Regions from separate parts of the Homo sapiens genome. Here region 2 is linked to region 1. Evidence: promoter capture Hi-C in human tissues and cell types (Jung and others, 2019). All regions are on one chromosome and are shown on one strand. Each heading gives the region's core, a stretch centred on a gene start or on the middle of the fragment in contact. The rest is flanking DNA. Distances are from core to core; before and after follow the strand shown.

Region 1 (6,160 bases), core at 454-2,953:
TTAATATGGTCCATCCCCCTGACTTCTTCTCTCTCTCCCTCCAAGCTCCAGCAGTATGCAAAACAAATTATAAATTTTCTGAATGATCTACCCCCATCCCCTCCCTAAGGGGAGCACGTGATGATCCCCTTGCCTAGAATACCTCATCACCTGCGCTTACCCTCCTCTCCTATCCTCTCTATAGAAGTCAGTTTGGGTGCAGTCTCCTTGACTCCCAGTCAGTTTGTGGCTTCTCCCAGGTTATCACAGAACTCTGCATATTTCTGTGTAGCAAGCCCTACCATGGATTCTAGTTGCTTGTTTGCTGCTTTTCCTGCTGACTTAGAGGCTATAAATCTTCCTTGAGGGAAGAAACTGAAGTTTGCTTATCTGAGCTTACGTGTCTGAAGTCCTGGCACAGAATTGGCGCTCAATAAACTTTTATTAAATGAGTGAATGCTAATAACATTGTATTCACTGGTCATAACTTTTCAAGGAAAGTTGTTCTTCACAAAATAATTTTCTGTAGTACAAAGCATCAAAGTGTACCATTAATGAAACTATGAATCTCTAAGATTCTCTAAATTTGGACATATGGTATCTATCCAGCTTACTTCTCAATATCTTGTTAACTTGCCACACAATACAAAACAAATCAATGTCTGTTGTTTCATTATTATATATTTCAAAGTATTTAAAAAAGTTTTACTGTATCCTTGAAGCCATAAAACCAACAATTTATATCAACTCAAGCCAGACAATATCACAATTAAATTTAAGATAATTCACATTCAAATAAAAACTTCAGTGCTCAAGTCTTAGTTTATTTAAGCTTTGATTTGAAAGGTTCTAAAACAATTTTGTCTAGAAAAGAAAACAAATTGTTATTCTTTCATTTTCTATTTTAATAAAATATATATCCATATTTGTTAAATTTTTAGCTTAAAGGAGAAAAGTTAATTTGATTGGTAAAAGCACCAAGGAGGAATTTTTTAAAAGTGACTCTTTAAAAAAATCTTCAAAGTTGCTTGTATGGTATCTACAATGCCACTTTAATTTTTAAAAGCCAATTTCAATATTAAAGTAATTTTATAAAGTTTCCTTCATTCAGCAAACAAAAGTATCTTTTACTATCAACCTCAAAAACTATAAATCAAATTTACTTTTAAAAAGCTAATTTTTATGCATCAGTTTTTCTTATATGTAACTAAAATAAAGGGGAGAAAAAATCCAAATGACAAAACTATCAAATAATTTGTGCTAAAACTAATTTTTACACTGGAAAAATATATTACACTGGCTATATATTAATTATGGTATTAGGGCAATATTTTTAATCCTCATAAAATTAACAACATGGACTATGTTGTCATTTGGTGTCCTATTTCATTCAAAAAGCAGATTGTTTGATCTCCTGGGAAATCACCAAAATGAAAAGGATGACTTTAAAACTATATCATTTTTCATAAACTAATATTCACCAAAACATGAATGTTTATTACACAATAATAAAATCACACAAGTTTATAGTCAAATTAGTTGAAGCAGACTGAGTGCAGCAGTTACAACAAATAACTTAAGCACAGTTCTCTAGTACAACACACTGCATTTCACCCTAGAGAAAGAATGCTGGCAAAGATCTCTACCACATGGAAACTGTTCTTAAAGCTGCTGGGCCCTGAAATTTTACTCAGCAGTTTGAAATCAAGACATAGCTTTTCTCATTCACCCTCCCACTTGGGGCTAATGCACAGACATGAACATCTATTGAGGAAAACCACAAAAAACTTCAAAACAGCTACAACGGTAGGCTTACTTTTCATATATTATTTTAAATATTGTTTGTTAAAGTGCGACTGACTCATCTAATAGTCTTAATAAATGTAAAGGCCATCTCTGGTTTAAGTTTCAGTTACCTCAATTAATTTTTAAGAAGTACTTATGTATATCATCGCATAAATTTAACATCCACGCAGGCAAGAATAGGGTGCTGCAGAAGTCACAAATCCATTATCTTCTTCATTTTCAACCTCTGGATTTTTGACAAACTGGCATCTATAATGCAGCATCAGCAACTCTTGAGTGATTCTGTTTGAAGTTACTTAAGAAAAAGTCTGAAATGTGTACCCACCAGAGAAAATCCATTGATGAGCCTAAAGGAATCCTTTCTATTACATTCCTCAAAGTTCTTTGATTAAAGTTCGGTATTTCCTCTAGCCTGCAATACTATTCTTTCAGTTTTCTTAGCTTAAATTAAAAATACAATACTATTAACTAAAAATTATGATCACCTATTAAAATTACAAAACTAAGAAAATTAAAAACGTATGGCTTTTCCTATATTCTGTACCACCTAAAGGTGTTAATGACTACTTTTCATAATGTTAAATTTAAGTTTTAAAACTTTTCTTGGAACTTGTTTCTGTTCATACCAATATAAATCAAGAGTTCTTATAAAGTAGCTAAGTGGAAATATGATATTTTTAACTCACATGAGACAGGATCTTGGGACTTTATTTTAACTATTTATACTACAGGTATCCTAAGAATATTTCAATTAAATATTAGTATGTCTGCTGAAGGCACTTAATTATTAAGAAACTTAAAATTATCAATCTTTCTTGAATTTCTGATAGAGAAGTAAAACTATTTTCCAAAACTATTTTTCAGAATGTTCACTGATACATAAAAACTGCTAGCATCTAATTAAAGATCACTAAGGGTTAAATACTGTTCTCTGGCCCTTACTGCGCACACCCTGCCAAAACATCCTCTAAGCTTTTAAATATTGCTTCGATGGTCTGAATTTTTATTTCCAGGGAAAAAGAGAGTTTTGTCCCACAGTCAGCAGGCCACTAGTTTATTAACTTCCAGTCACCTTGATTTTTGCTAAAATGAAGACTCTGCAGTCTACACTTCTCCTGTTACTGCTTGTGCCTCTGATAAAGCCAGCACCACCAACCCAGCAGGACTCACGCATTATCTATGATTATGGAACAGATAATTTTGAAGAATCCATATTTAGCCAAGATTATGAGGATAAATACCTGGATGGAAAAAATATTAAGGTACTTTATTTCTATTCTAAATTTAGCTTCTAAAATACTGCCCATTTAAATGCATGTTTTTGCTTTTCCTGAATGTGTCTGATAAGGTAAGGGGAAGGGAAAATCACTTTAAATGATTCAAACGAATTCATAATAATTGTCCCTAAGATTGTATTTTTAGAGTATGTATGCTTTCCAAATTAATAAATGGTATCTATGGTAACCAAACAGTATCTATAGTAACCAAAAAATAAAACTTAAAGAAAACTAGACTTTAAGATGATCCCTCACCAGTTGCAATTTATATATTAAGTAATGTTACACAATGCCCTATACTTGCAATGTTGTGTTGCCTCAAAAATAAATTAGCGGAAATGTGTATTTGGAGAAATAAAGATGAATTATCAGCTTAAGGTTATTATTATAGAAAACAATTTGAAGAAAATACATAGAAGAGTACTGGTTATTTTGATATCAATAGCATTCCACAATAATTTATATATGCCATCTACATACAGTACCAAAAACTGAAAACCTAGTCAATATAGGACTTTCTTTTTAAATCAATTTTAACAGTTTAGACCCTCTATCAATTGGTACCAAGTAACTGTAACTGTCTTTGAGTTAACACTGCAAGGGTGACGTTATACCACATCATTCATTCCCCACCTTTATGGGCAAACTAATTACTTGTGGTTTTCTTGGCACACAGAAATGAATGCTGGGTAAGGAAAAAGTTAATACAGCACTTAAGTATCTGTTGCCCACTATGTATGACACATACACATACACACTGGAAAATGAGAAATTCAGCCAAATATATAACAATACTGATTGTTTCAGAAGTTCTTCTCCACTATAAATTGGAGGATAAAGACTTATAAGATTGACCAGTTATAATTGCTACTTTCTCTTTTCTTTTTTGCAGGGGTACACAATGAGCAAATGTTAACACCACAGTTTCTTTCTTTCAGTTAATGCTTTTAATATGATAGCATTATTTTTGCCCATCACTAAGACACAAAGGATAGGTATTACTAATTATAGCTTCAAGTTAAAGAAAAAAAAGTCCCATCATAACATAGGCTATTGGCTCACTTGGATGATTTGAATCTATTAAGATTCCCTGATCCCTAAAGAGTTTAGAGATTATTTTTCTCTCTGCTTCTTCTCTTTACAGGGCTTTAGAAGTTTCTCTATCTTAATATAAATGCAGGGTCTAAGATATTTGTGGAGTGGAGTAGAATTCAACAGGACTTGATGTGCAAACACAGAGTAGAGGGAGGAAGTTCAACCACCACACAGATGGGAGAATGAAGGTGAAGGGCAGAGTCAGGAGTCAAGACCGAGACTAAAATGGAACATGCTTACAAAGGACAGAAAGAATAGGACACCACATAATACACTGTAATCTAATGGCAGAAAACGTACTCTCCAAGAACAGGAAAGACAGGATCTAAATTGTATCTACTCCAATTTCCCCAGAATTAATGGCCTACCCCAGTGGCCCAAGCAGGGTAGGTAAGGTAAGCTGGAATAAAAGGGATCCAAGAGCCAGGGCTTAATGGAGGGATATAGGTAATTAAAGGGTCACCCCAAGAAGAGACCTAAAGACCTTAATTGGTAGTTTATACTTGTGACATGGCTGGAGCTCTAGTCTTACTCAAAATGGTAGAATCTGAATGAGAAACTCAGTTCAGACAAGACCCCTGAGGAACAGTTTCACCTCAGAAAAACTTTCATTCCAATTCAGGGAATTCTCACCTAGCTTTCATTTGGAATTTCAGGATGTTCAACATTTATTAAGCACTGAGTGTAGCTACTGGCGATATAAAAATAAAAACACCCAGTTCTTTTACTCAAGGAGCTCATAGTCTAGAATAAAAACAAGCTAAAAAATACTTATTGTAATTTAATAGATGATAAAATGGAAATATGTATGAAAGCCTAATGGAGCACAAAGGAAATGCCACTAATTGTAACTACGAGAAGGTGTCTGTGATCCCTTCATTTTACAGAGAAACACAGACTTAATGAAGCTAGGTAACAAACTTTTATTTTTCCAATAGGAAAAAGAAACTGTGATAATACCCAATGAGAAAAGTCTTCAATTACAAAAAGATGAGGCAATAACACCATTACCTCCCAAGAAAGAAAATGATGGTAAGTATCATCTAAATATTTTTCAAATGGATCTTTTAAAAATAGCTATAATGGACTTTATTCCTTGTGGTAATCAAAAACTGACTCAAGATACAGTAAATACAAACAGTGGAATTTTATTTCCAATGATAAACTCAAACTGGGAGTGCACACCATTTGCCATCCCACATTATGAGTGAGAAATGTGGAGCAAGAACTTGTGAGAACAACCAAAGCTTAGGCAAGCTTAGCCTCCACAAAGTGTGGTTTCCATCCATATAAAATCTATTCGAGAAATACTTAAACACGGATTATTTGCAAAATACAATGTGCAGCCTCAGTATACGGTAAATATAATTATTGCCTTTAAGAAACTTACAGAACAGAAACACACATATACATCAATAATTACACATACATTTCAATTAAAATAGAAAACTTGTCATGAAATAACAAATTACAAGTCCTACTTAATAATTCCTGTGTACTTGGCTTACTCTTACTCTATCACAGAACATTATTTCACATGAAAACATGACAAAAACCACATATTAATTTCTATATTTCTAAAATAAAATGAAAATGAACCATAACAGAAAATAAAGCTTAAAAAGCGAGAAGTATGATAGTAAAAATAGATTTGAATAAATTTAAAGACATCCCAGGCTGGGCGTGGTGGCTCACGCCTGTAATCCCAGTACTTTGGGAGGCTGAGGCGGGTGGATCACGAGGTCAGGAGTTCAAGACCAGCCTGGTCAAGATGGTGAAACCCTGTCTCTACTAAAAATACAAAAAATTAGCCAGGCGTGGTGGCAGGTGCCTGTAATCCCAGCTACTCGGGAAGCTGAGGCAGAGAATTGCTTGAACCTGGGAGGTGGAGGTTGCGGTGAGCCGAGGTCGTGCCATTGTACTCCAGCCTAGGCGGCAGAGCAAGACTCTGTCTCAAAAAAAACAAAAACAAAAACAAAAAACAAAAGACATCCCTTGTTCTT
Region 2 (4,234 bases), core at 1,735-4,234, 34 kb before region 1:
AGTACATAGATGATAAATATGTAGCTTGATTAATTTTAACACTGTAGTTACATACCATGTAAGTAACATCCAAAAGTATGACTAATAAAATACAAAAATTCATGCACTTGTTTTTTATTAACGTTTTCTTAAACATACAGATAGCTCACATTTATTTCAATGTTTAATATTAGAAGTGTTTTGGGTCTTCATTACGAAGTTCGGTGATGATTCTATAACCAGAAATATGCCACAGGAACTTAACACTTGTTTGATAACAATTAGCCTATGGTAAAATTGGTTTCATTATATGTCATTTCACTTAAAGTCGCAGTTTCAAAGAACCCATTGACGATGTTAAGTGAGGACTTACTGAACAATAGTCTCGGTTTTACCTTGGGGGATATGTTTCAAGACATCCCCTGTAGATGCCTGAAACCACAGCAAGTACAAAACCTGATTGTTGTCAGTCAAAACACATTTCTGTTCACGTCTTCCACTCACAGATTTAATGCCTTTTCCCTCTTAACTAAATACTTATAATGCATTAATTGTGGTCATAACTTTCGCAGTTTGAGGTGCAACAGGAAACTAAACTAGTTTCTTTTTCCTTCTTCACAATTTTACAGATAGGAGATTTGGTCTTACTACAGATGTTAGCACTCTTACCATACCATTCTTTTTCTTTCCTTATTAAGTTGAGAACTTTTACTAAGGGAAAAGTTTTCACTTAAGGGAAGCACTTTATAGATCAAGCTTGTCCAACCCACAGCCATGGCCCACTGTAGCCCAGGATGGCTTTGAATGTGGCCCAACACAAATTCGTAAGCTTTCTTAAAACATGATGAGTTTTCTTGTGATTTATTTATTTATTTATTTATTTATTTATTTATTTATTTTAACTCATCAGCTATCACTAGTGTTAGTGTGTTTTATGTGTGGCCCATGACAATTCTTTTTCTTCCAATGTGGCCCAGGGAAGCCAAAAGACTAGGCACCCCGTTATAGATTCTCTTTGACATAAGGTTTACTACAACGTAAGTGCTGGGATACCATGACAGGTGATCTGATAACCCTAAGTGACTAATGGGAGGTGAGTGTATATAGTGTGGATATGTTGCACACAGGGATGATTCATGTCCTGGACTAGACAGAGCTGGACAGCACAGGACTTCGTCAGGCTACTCAAAATAGCATGTAATTTGAAACATGAATTATTTCTTTCTGGAATTTTCCATTTAATATTTTTGGACCATGGTTGACCATGGGTAACTCAAATGGGGGAAAGCAAAACTGTGGATAAGGGGAGGCCACTGTAAATATTAACTTGAATAAACATAAGTAACAGAAATTCTGGTTCCTAGGTCTCTATATTCACCACTCTTATCCATACTTAGAATCATTTCACTACTTTGAAGATCAAAGAGTTCCTTTCACCCAAATGGTACTTGTAGTAATATTACATAATTCTACAGAAAATATAGAGGGGATCAGACCAATAAGACTCAAGAGCATTCCAAGAATTTTAACATGGGATTGAGAAAGAGGACTAGATATAAAGCGATATCCCATAAAATAATAGGAAGACAAAGAGAAGGTGGCATAGAAAGACAAAGGAGCCACACAAGTTTAGATGTGGAGCAGCCTCATTGAAACCTCTTCATTTTAAGATTATAAAACTGATTCTCCAGAGAGACAGGTGACTTAAGACCACCAACTCATGAAAAGCTGTGGCCAGGGCCTCCCATGCTGGTCAGCCACTGTGACTCTATAGCTAGTGGGGGCTGGGGAGGATTCTACAATCTCTGTTTATTTGGAAACACAGAATAGCTTATCACTTATTTCCCACATATTTTAAAAATATATATATTTTAAATTATTTTTTCCAAAAATAAGCCCATTAAATTTACTGAAAAAAATTACCTAATTTTCACCATGGGAGGGCAGTCTTATTCTAATAAGCTATGGAAGTCTGAAAATAAAGACAAGAAAGCCAGGTCTACTTTAAAATAGTCTTAAGCCACTATTATTATATTTTTAAAATTTAGCCAATAACTTCTAACTAGAAGCAAAAATAATAACACACGATCTAATAAAAATACTTGGGAAAACAAAAAGATGAAATACTTGAAAACGGACAAACAGAATTGTGCTTCATATGCAAAAAAATCTAAGTCACTTCCCCATACTGGAAAATCTTAATAAGAACAAAAGAACAGCACCAAGCATTTACTAAGGCCATACCACGTAGCAATAACAAATGAAGCAGTTTATTGATTGACCGATTGATTGACTGAGATGGAGTCTCGCTCTGTCACACAGGCTGGAGTGCAGTAATGCAACCTCAGCTTTGCAACCTCTGCCTCCCAGGTTCAGGAGATTCTCCTGCCTCAGCCTCCCAAGCAGCTGGGATTACAGGCACATGCCACCATGCCTGGTTAATTTTTGTATTTTTAGTAGTGACGGGGTTTCACCATGTTGGCCAGGCTGGCCTCGAACTCCTGACCTCAAGTGATCCACCTGCCTTGGCCTCCCAAAGTGCTGGGATTCCAGGCAAGAACCACCACACCCAGTCAAAAATGAAGCAGTTTAAATGCAATGTTTAAATACTAAGCACTCAATCATTATGAAATCTTAATAATGGTAGATGTAGACACACCAATCTCAAAAATTATATGAAAATGCAAAGGACTTACAACAGTGAAAACAATTTGGAAAAAGAACAACAAAGTTAGAGGATGTATACTCTCCAATGGCAGAACTTACTGTAAAACTACCCTAATAAGGAGGGCATGACACTGGTATAAGGCAGACACATAGAGCAATAGAACAGAACTGAGGATCAGAAACAAACCTGCACATTTATGGTTAACTAATTTTTGACAATGGAGAAATAACTGTCCTTTCAACAAATGGTGCTGAGACAATTGGATATTCACATGCAAAAAAGTGAACTTAGATCCTAACCTCACACCACACACAAAAATTAAATCAAAACAGATCATAGACCTAAATATAAGAGATAAAACTTATAAAACTTCTGGAAGAAACAGGAAAAAATATTTAAGACCTGAGGCAAAGAGTTCTTAGACTTGACACCAAAAGCATGAAAAATAAAAGATAAAAAATCATAAATTGGTCCCAGTGCAGTGGCTGACATCTGTAATCCCAGCACTATGGGTAGCTGAGGTGGGAGGATCACTTGAGCCTAGGAGTTCAAGACCAGCCTGGGCAACACAGGGAGACCTCATCTCTACAAACAATAAAAAAATTAGCCAGGTGTGGAGGCACATGCCTGTGGTCTCAGCTACTCGAGATGCTGAGGAGGGAGGATCACTGGAGGCTGAGGTGGGAGGATCACTGGAGGCTGAGGTGGGAGGATCACTTGAGCCTGGAAGGTTAAAGTTGCAGTAAGTTGTGATTGAGCCACTGCACTCCAGCCTGGGCAACAGAGTGAGACAGTGTCTCCAAAAAATAACTTATAAATTGGACTTTACAAAATTAATATTTATGTGCCAAAAGGCTATTAAGAAGATGAAAAGCCTAGGCACAATGGCTCATGCCTGTAATCCCAACACTTTGGGAAGCAGAGTGGATCGCTTAAGCCCAGGAATTCAAGATCAGCTTGGGCAACATGGCGAAACCCTGTCTCTACAAAAAATACAAAAATTAGCTGGGTGTGTTGGCATATGCCTGTGGTCTCAGCTACTCGGGAAGCTGAGGTGGGAGGATTACTTGAGCCCAGGAGGCAGAAGCTTCAGTGAACCAAGAACCTACTACTGCACTCCAGCCTGGGCAACATAGCGAGACTCTGTCCAAAAAAAAAAAACAAAACAAAAAAAAAGACAAAAGAAAAAGACTAATCATACACTAGAAGAAAAATATTACAAGCTATATATTTGATAAAGGACTTATATCCAGAATATACAAAGAACCCTTACAATGTGTAATAAGACAAAAACCCAATTAAAAAAAGGCAAATTGATATACAGTTTTAATGTAATTCCTACCAAAATCCCAGCAAGATTTATTTATTTATTTTTGAGACAGAGTTTCGCTCTTGTTGCCCAGGCTGGATTGCAATGGTGTGAGCTCTGCTCACTGCAACCTCCGACCCCTGGGTTTGAGCGATTCTCCTGCCACAGCCTCCTAAGTAGCTGGGATTACAGGCACCTGCCACCATGCCCGGCTAATTTTTTTGTATTTTTAGCAGAGATGGGGTTTCATCATGTTGGCCAGGCTGGTCTCAAACTCC

What was found. The method cuts DNA at HindIII sites, captures the fragments that hold promoters and counts their contacts. A contact is called where the count stands out against the background at its distance.
Region 2: a fragment that was not itself captured here is called in contact with the fragment with the promoter of OGN in region 1 in 1 of the 25 tissues and cell types used here (aorta).

What each region holds. Positions count from the first base shown.
Region 1 is chr9:92,400,121-92,406,280 of GRCh38, reverse strand. It overlaps OGN (osteoglycin), which reads left to right and starts at 1,703. Exons shown (of 7, transcript NM_014057.5): 1 at 1,703-1,785; 2 at 2,799-3,047; 3 at 5,096-5,189. The coding sequence starts at 2,874. All of the region lies in intron 5 of CENPP (centromere protein P), which reads right to left. The HindIII fragment of the contact is 4,115 bases long and covers 1-4,081 here.
Region 2 is chr9:92,436,991-92,441,224 of GRCh38, reverse strand. All of the region lies in intron 5 of CENPP (centromere protein P), which reads right to left. Among named protein-coding and RNA genes, the nearest start is that of OMD, 15 kb to the right of the region's middle. The HindIII fragment of the contact is 4,423 bases long and covers 773-4,234 here.